Regions from separate parts of the Homo sapiens genome. Here region 1 is linked to region 2. Evidence: promoter capture Hi-C in 16 types of primary human blood cells and fetal thymus (Javierre and others, 2016). All regions are on one chromosome and are shown on one strand. The core of a region is centred on a gene start or on the middle of the fragment in contact, and the rest is flanking DNA. Distances in the headings are between cores, read along the strand shown. Region 1 overlaps MXI1 (MAX interactor 1, dimerization protein). Region 2 holds the start of GLUD1 (glutamate dehydrogenase 1).

The links. Contacts are between HindIII fragments. The CHiCAGO score rates a contact against its expected background, and 5 or more counts as called.
Region 1: a contact is called between a fragment that was not itself captured here and the fragment with the promoter of GLUD1 in region 2, in 1 of 17 cell types (activated CD4 T cells). The highest score is 5.7, in activated CD4 T cells.

The regions. Positions count from the first base shown.
Region 1 is chr10:110,223,151-110,227,263 of GRCh38, forward strand. All of the region lies in intron 1 of MXI1 (MAX interactor 1, dimerization protein), which reads left to right. Among named protein-coding and RNA genes, the nearest start is that of MXI1, 18 kb to the left of the region's middle. RefSeq lists enhancers at 2,595-2,654, 3,255-3,324 and a silencer at 2,765-2,924. The HindIII fragment of the contact is 4,658 bases long and covers 1-4,113 here.
Region 2 is chr10:87,092,166-87,096,200 of GRCh38, forward strand. It overlaps GLUD1 (glutamate dehydrogenase 1), which reads right to left and starts at 2,678. Exons shown (of 13, transcript NM_005271.5): 1 at 2,160-2,678. The coding sequence starts at 2,604. SHLD2 (shieldin complex subunit 2) reads left to right here and starts at 3,041. Exons shown (of 10, transcript NM_001330112.2): 1 at 3,041-3,083. RefSeq lists enhancers at 690-1,227, 3,632-3,691 and silencers at 1,912-2,251, 2,452-2,591, 2,712-3,411, 3,332-3,589. The HindIII fragment of the contact is 4,292 bases long and covers 1-4,035 here.

The DNA.
Region 1 (4,113 bases), core at 786-3,285, about 23 Mb after region 2:
GCATAGGCCCCAGGCCTCTTGCATGTAGCCATCTCTTCCTAACCAGCTATGGTTCTGTGACCTCTGGAATTAAAGCCATCTTGAATTCATGTATATTTTCAGTTTGTACTACTTTTCTTGATTGCTTGTCACACAAGTTTACCTCCTATTGAGAAAAGTAGAGTTGTATTTGTCCTGGCCAGGGACACTTTGGGAGGCTGAGGTGGGCGAGTCACGAGGTCAGGAGTTTGAGACCAGTGTGGCCAACATGGTGAAACCCTGTCTCTACGAAAATCAAAAAATTAGCTGGGCGTGGTGGCAGGCGCCTGTAACCCCAGCTACTTGGGAGGCTGTGTCAGGAGAACCCGGGAGGTGGAGGTTGCAATGAGCCGAGATCGCGCCACTGCACTCCAGCTGGGGTGACAGAGTAAGACTCCGTCTCAAAAAATAAATAAATAAATAAATAAAAAATAAATAAATTCTACCCTCAACTAACAGATGTTCTAAATGAATGGTATTTTCTTTAAAATAATCCAGTCCCACCCCTACCCAACATGGCCCTTGTTGAGGGTGAAGGGAGGTTGTTACCAACACCCAGTGGGAAAGTCCAGATCCAAAATGACCTGGGAAAGTCCAGATCCAAAACGACCTAGTCAAGAGCTAAAAGAACAGTCCCTTTTTGAAAGCCTTTACAAAAAAAAAAAAAAGTTCTTCTGTGGCTTGCGAACACCTCTCATTTTGGGTCTGCTTGCATTTGATGGAACGTCTATTTGGTCTTAAATGTGGTGCCAAGTGTAATATTTAAAAGGACTGGCAGAATTTTGCAGCTTGTGACCTCACTGGAGATTTTGTTCACTTTACCAAAAAAAAAGAAAAGAAAAAAGAAAACAAAAGGTATGAGGGAAAGGTAAGAAAACAAAAGGTATGAGGGAAAGGTATATTAAAATGCAGCATGAAGCCGATAACATTTTTAAGAGGGTAAGATTTCCATCTCAAGATGGTATTTTCTGCAGGAGCCAATGGAATGACCACGGGAGGGGGAAACTCCCCCCTCACCAGGAGCTTCCTGTTATTTTGGATGTGATGTCAAGCAGCAGGTTAATATAATTGGGGTGGAAAAAAGTTATGGGTATGTTTGCACGGTTCCCAGCTTGTTCCTAGAGCATTCAAGTACGATTCTCTTGTTCTTCCTCTCCCTAGATCCCTTGTTCCCAACTGGGGGACAGGGGAGGGATTTTGTGCCCCAGGAGATATTTGGCAATGTCTAGAGGCATTTTTGGTTGTCACACCTGAGGGGTGGTGGTGTGCTACTGGCATCTAGTGGGTAGAGGCCAGGGATGCTCCTAAACATCCTGCAAAGCACGGAACAGAGCTCCTGCTCCAAGGAGGAATTACCCAGATCAAAATGTCAATGATGCTAAAGTTGAGAAACCCTGGTCTAGACTTTGAGGATTTTTTAGGTGGAGGACTTAGAAAGAGAGTGGCCATGAATGAGCAGTCAGTGGCTTTTTTTTTTTTTTTTTTTCTTTGAGACTGAGTCTTGCTCTGTTGCCCAGGCTGGAGGCCGGAGTGCAGTGGCGTGATCTCGGCTCACTGCAACCTCCGCCTCCCGGGTTCAAGCGATTCTCGTGCCTCAGCCTCCCGAGTAGCTTGGATTACAGGCACCCGCCACCATGCCCGGCTAATTTTTGTATTTTTAGTAGAGACAGGGTTTCACCATGTTGGCAAAGCTGGTCTCGAACTCCTGACCTCAGGTGATCCGCCCACCTCAGCCTCCCAAAGTGCTGGGATTACAGGCGTGAGCCACTGTGCCCGGCCAGTGGTAGTCTTTTAATGTGGTCTCCGCTCTCTAACTTCCTTTTTAGCTACAGAGGAGAGCATAAGAGAAAACATCATCATCGCTTCTATTTACTGAGTGCCTAGTATATACTAAGTGCTGGAATTATTATATTTAATCTTTGCAAAAAGCACTACTGAATACACAAACCTCGAGAGCAGGTCTGCGTCCGTTTCTCTCTTACTATGCAAACTAAGTCTAGTACAGTGCCTGGCACATGGCACGCCCTCAACGCCGTGGATATGATCATATCCATTTTATACATAAGGAAAATGAGGCTGGAAGAGTTCACACAGGTCTCAGTGTAAGTAGCAGAGTCAGGATTTGAACCAAACTGTTCCGCACCAGGGAGAATTTTCTGGCGTCTAAAAGCACTAGTGAGGAGAGGAGAAAGTTTTAAAAAGTAAGATTAAAGAAAAAAGTAACTACTTGTCTGTGTGGAAGCTGAGGTGGAAGAAGGGCTTCATGGAAACCCTCTCTGATGAAATCATCCCTCGTTTTTGAACAGCAATTTTGGCTTTTCCAGTTTCTGTGTGCGCTGTTGGTGCAGGTGTGTTACTCTTCTTATTTTGCAGATGAGCAAACTGAGGCACATAAGTTACATGAGAAAGTAGGAGATAGAGGACTGGAACATGATACTTCGAATAAAGAATGTCTCAGCCCCTGGGCAACCGCAGGGAGTCGCTGAGAAACAAGTTTCCCCGGGAGTAGACTCCCAGCTCGCTCAAATCCTTCCCATTCCACATCGTGTCTGGAGGGAGGAAAAAAAAATTCTTCCCTCCCAGAAGCAAAGTCCCGCAACTTCTTAGTCTTCCCTAGAGACAGGAAAGGAAACCCAGCGGGACTACACCTTCCGACGACCTTTGCGAATCTTGCGGAACGCAGGCGCCCTGAAACGGCGTGTGCACTACGATTCCCGGCAGCCGCGGGCGGGTGCGGGACTACATTTCCCAGGGGGCAGAGGCAGGGGCGGGAGGGGGCGGGCCCCGGCGCTGCTCCCGCCCCTCCCCCGTGCTCGCGGGGAGAGGTAAACAAACCACGCGCGGGCTGCCCGCGGCACGGCGGGCGCGGCTGGCGCGGCTGGGGCGGCAGGGGCGGCGGAGAGCGCGCCGAGCCGCGGCCGAGCTGGCCCGCCCGCCCGTCGCACATGTTCCGGAACGGCGCCCGGCCGTAGCCGCCTGCGGCGCCTCCTGTCGGCCCGAGAAGGGAGTGCGGAGAGGCGCCGGTCGCCACCCGCGGTGCCCATGGAGCGGGTGAAGATGATCAACGTGCAGCGTCTGCTGGAGGCTGCCGAGTTTTTGGAGCGCCGGGAGCGAGGTAATGGCTGGGCGCCGCTGCGTGAGCCCGAGCGCTACTAATCTTTTTCGGCAGTGCGGTGCGGCCGGTAAGGGAGGGCACGCGTGTGAGGTGCGCGCATGAGGTGAGGTGTGCGCGCATGTGAGGGGAGGGGTGTGCGCGCGTGAGGGTAGAGGAGCGCGCGTGTGTGGGGAGGGGCGTGTGGGGAGGGGAGCGCGCGTGAGGGGAGGGGCGTGTGAGGGAGGGGTGCGCACGCGTGAGGGGAGCGCGCGTGTGAGGGGAGGGGCGTGTGAGGGAGGGGTGCGCGCGTGTGAGGGGAGGGGCGTGTGAGGGAGGGGACGCGCGTGTGAGGAGGGGCGTGTGGGTAGGGGAGCAGGCGTGTAAGGGGGGCGTGTGAGGAGCGCGCGCGTGAGGGGAGGGGCGAGTGAAGGAGGGGAGCGCGCTTGTGATGGGAGGGGCATGTGGGGAAGGGAGCGCGCGTGTGGGAGGGGCGCACGCGTGAGGGGAGGGGCGTATGAGGGAAGGGGAGCGCGCGTGAGGGGAGGGGCGTGCACATGTGAGGGGAGGAGTGTGTGAGGGGAGGGGAGCATGTGAGGGGAGGGGAGCTCGCCTGTGAGGGAGGGGTGCGCGCGTGTGAGGGAGGGGTGCGCGCGTGTGAGGGGAGGGGCGTGTGAGGGGAGGGGAGCGCGCGCGTGAGGGGAGGGGCGCGCGGGTGTGAGGGGAGGGGCGCGCGCGTGTGTGTGAGGGGAGGGGTGAGCGCATGTGAGGGGAGGGGTGCGAGCATGTGAGGGGAGGGGCGTACGCGTGTGGGGAGGGGCGTGTGAGGGGAGGGCCATGCGTGTGTGTGAGGGCAGGGGTGCGCACGTTAGGGGAGGGGCGTGTGAGGAGAGGGGCACGCGCGTGTGTGGGGAGGGTCGCGCGTGTGCGGGGAGGGTCGCGCGTGTGTGAGGGGTGCGCGCGTGGGAGGGATGGTGCGCGGGGGGGAGGGGCGTGTGCGGGAA
Region 2 (4,035 bases), core at 1,428-3,927:
AAGCATGGAAGGCTATAGTACCCAAATTTTGCTGATCATCTGTTTAGTATACTGTTTATTAAGCAAACTAAAATATTTAAGGGCTTTCATAGCTATGTAATCTTCCCCAATCCAGAAAGCCTTTCAAATTCCTGAAGATAATAAATTTGTCACTTTGTAGAGGCCAATTTTCTTTGATGTTCTATCAATGCTTGCAACAGTTTACTAGTAACAATTCAGTTTCTCCCTGTTTATATGCTGGGGGTTAATAGCATGTTTTTTTGTAAATGGGATAAACGGAACAGAAAATTGTATCTTACACTCTAGTACAAGCAAGTGCTACAGTAACAGTGCTTTGGTATGGCTGACCCAATTTGTTGCTAGGTTCAATATTTTGGCATTAAAACTGCTGTGGCAACAAGAGAAAGAGGACTCACAAACTATGGTAAACGAGTTGCTTCAGTGAGTTTGCGGAGCTGCGACTTATAAAAACAGGAGAGAGCTGGGCATCTGAAGAATCGAAGAAAAAGGATTTCAGAGACCAAATCATCCTGCAGAAAACCACATACACTGATTTATCTGTACACCTTTTAAAGGACTGGCAAATGCTGCCAGCAAGATAGTAAAAAATAAACTTGATGTCCGTTTTAAGAAAACGATGCAACTCAATATTTGCTAAACATTGCCTGAACTTCCTCCAACATCCTTATTTGCCTTTCTTTGGAGTCTGAACTTGTTTTCCTGGTTTGGATAATAAGGGAGTGGTAGGAAGAAGGCAGGCAAATGTAGGAGACTGACGGTGTGTACATTTTATACAATTTTGAAGCTAGAAAGGAAATCAGAGGTCAAAGTGGTTCAAACATTGGTTTTGGCTGAGGCAACCAGAGCTAGGGGATAATTAAGCTCCAAAGTTAAGTCCTAGAAGTGGGCGGGGTCAATGCAAATTTAGTAAATCTTTAAAAACAACCTTTGTCCCCCCTGCTGGGAACACCAGCACCGCTCAAGTTTTTTCCGGTACAGAGAGGATTTCTAAAAATCCTCATAAGTCAGCGGGCATAACTGAAAGACCACAGAACCAGGTTTACTGAGACATGGGTCTAGCCCAACATCCTCTGTGCTTCTCAGCCAATCCACCTCCAACAAGACTCCTCGCCTCCCTGGGCTCTTTATTCCATATAATTTTTCTTTTTTACAGTAGACAAAAGTGGTTTGTCCTTTCCATTTTATGTTACTAAAGAGGTATGATGCAATGTATTGGGGGGAAAAAAGCTCTTATTTGCTCGAAGAAAGCAATCTGACTACAGAGGCCAAATCTACAGACATTAAATGATTTAAACCACAGGATAACCCAGTGACTACCAAACATTATCTGACCCCTTTCTTCACGTACTATATTTTTCCTGAAGCTCAAATTCAGGGCTAGCCAGGACCAGTACACACCCCCAGAGCTATTTCATTCCATTGGCTGGCTGGCCATCCGCAGCCTACAACCTGTAAATTTACTGTCAGGACGCCAGGTGTTTATTTGTCAGAGATATTACATTGCTTGTGATTTTTTTGTGTTTTTCCTTTTTTTTGGTATAAAACAGAACTTGTCAGAATGGGAAAATTACTTAATTGAAACGATTAACGCGTGATTAGTAAATTCCTTTGGTTAATAAAACTGTCTAGATTTCAAACTTAGAAGCCAAGTCATTTTCTATGTTCGGATATCATCTGTCACTATTGGAACAGGAGTGAACAAATACCAGAAAATAATTTGACAGCTTGCATTTAGGGGAGACTCACAAAAGCCCAAGAACACTGACGAGGCATTATCACACGGGCAGGTCATTCCCTTTCCTAGAAGTGCATTTCGGCAGGACCCGCCGTGTGTGACACAGACACCGGGACCAAAAGGAGACCGGTGCAGCGTCTACTCTGCATGCAAGATCAGCATATACAGAGGCCCGGGGTGACGGCGCGGGGGAGGGGGCAGGCCAATCGCATGATGATTTTAAGGCGGAAAAATCACCATCCACAGAGCCGGCCACATCCGAGGCGGGGTGACCCGGGCGGGGACCCGGCCCGCTCCAGCTGGGCTGGGCTGGGCTGAGCAGCGGCCCCGCACCGGCAGGAGGCCGGAGGGGAGGGCCGCAGGGGAGGCAGGGAGGGCGGGACGGGGCCCGGCCGACGCTCACCTCCCTTGCAGGGCGTGCGGTGCTGGCTGTGCTGGGCCCGGTAGCCTTCGATGACCTCCCAGGAGCCGTCGTCGCGCCGGATGGGGAAGGAGAGACTCAGCACATGGTTGCAGGGCTTGATGATCCGCAGGATGCCGCGCACCCGGTTCCGCTTCTGCTCCTCGCTCTCCCGGGTCCTCAGGTCCTCCACCAGCTTGTCCTCCACGATGCTGGCGCCGCGATCGAAGAAGCCCTCCACCATCTTGAAGAAGTTGGGGTCGTCCTCGCGGTCGGCCACCGCCTCGCTGTAGTGGCGCCGGGCGGCCAATGCCAGCCCCGGCTGCGGGGCGGCGGCGGGCTGTCCCCGGGCCCAGCCCAGCAACGCGGCCGAGTCGGCGGACGCCGAGCCCAGGGCAGCGGGCCCGGCCCGGGACAGCAACAGCGCTTCGCCCAGGTAGCGGTACATGGCCACAAGCGGAGGGGAGGTGCGTGATGGTCGCGAAACAGGCGCGCTTTCTCAGACTCCCCGCGACTAGGGAGGAAGGGTCCCGCGCGGGTTGCCCTTTTAAGCCGCAGCTTCCTGCTTGCCCGGCTGTCCCCTCCCCTCGGGCGCTCGCCACCTAACGGGGAGGACGGACTTCGGGGACAGGGCGCCGCCCAGGGCGCCGGGCCTCCGCCTCCGCCGCGGCCTCCCCGGGCCTCGCTGGCGGCAGCGCGCGCCGGCGGGGCGTCGGGGGCGCGCAGGCGCGGGCGGGCTCGGCGCGCACGCTCGCGCGCCAGTGGGGAAGGGAGGGGAGGGGAGAGGAAGGGCGGGGAGGAGAGTGGAGGGGAACGGACGGGAGGGGCAGGGAGGGGAAGGTCGGGGCGGGTCGGGGCGGGTCGGGGCGGGCCCACGGGCGGCCGGATTTGCCCGGAGGCCGCACCCGCCTCCGGCGGGGCTCTCAGGTATGTGCGCCGCGGGGGTCCCTCAGGGGGGTTGGGGGTAGCCCAGGGAGGTCGGGGTCGGGGGCTGGCCTCTGTAGGGCGCTCAGAGGCCGAGTCCCCCCGAGCGCCGCGTGGGTGAGGCTTGGCGGTCTGGTCGGGGACCGGGTCATGTGAGTCACGGGCGCCCCTCCTTTCCGCCCGCGCGCCCTCGGAACGGGCGGCCCACCCTGGCCTGTCCTCTGGCGGCCTCAGGCCGGGGCCGGGCGTGCAGGGGCTGACACGTGGGCAGGAAAGCGAGGCAGAGCCGCCGCCGCGTAAGGCCGGGCTGAGGGCTCGGCGTCACCAGCCAGGGCTGCAGAGAGCGGCGTGGCACCCGGAGTTGGATTATGCGTGGCTGGCGTGAGCTGGAAGGGAGTCACTCGCCCACAAGCTCTCACCACGCGAGCTTTTATTGTCCCGTTCAACTGCTCCGCAGTGTGGAGATCGCATAGTTACGCACGTCGTGGTTGTGTCGCCCCACAGTACTGACTGCTTCACCTTTGCAGACAGAGGCTCCGGCCCGGCGCGGTGGCTCACGCCTTTAGTCCTAGCACTTTGGGAGGTCGAGGCTGGAGGATGGCTTGAGCCCAGGAGTTCGAGGCTGCAGTGAGCTACGATAGCTCCACTGCACCCCAGCCTGGGCAACAGAGGGAGACCCTATCTCCCTCTGAAATAGTCTAAAATAAGGAAACTAGAAATGCGATAATGCCCCCAGGAAATTCTTTCTCAGGAATATATGTATTTGTTAAATGGTTCAGTATATGATTTATTTTTTATTTTATTTATTTATTTGAGATGGAATCTTGCTCTGTCGCCCAGGCGGGAGTGTAGTGGCACCATCTCGGCTCACTGCAGCTTCCACCTCCCTGGGTTCGTTCTAGCGATTCTCCTGCCTCAGCCTCGGGGTAGCTGGGATTACAGGCCCGCGCCACCA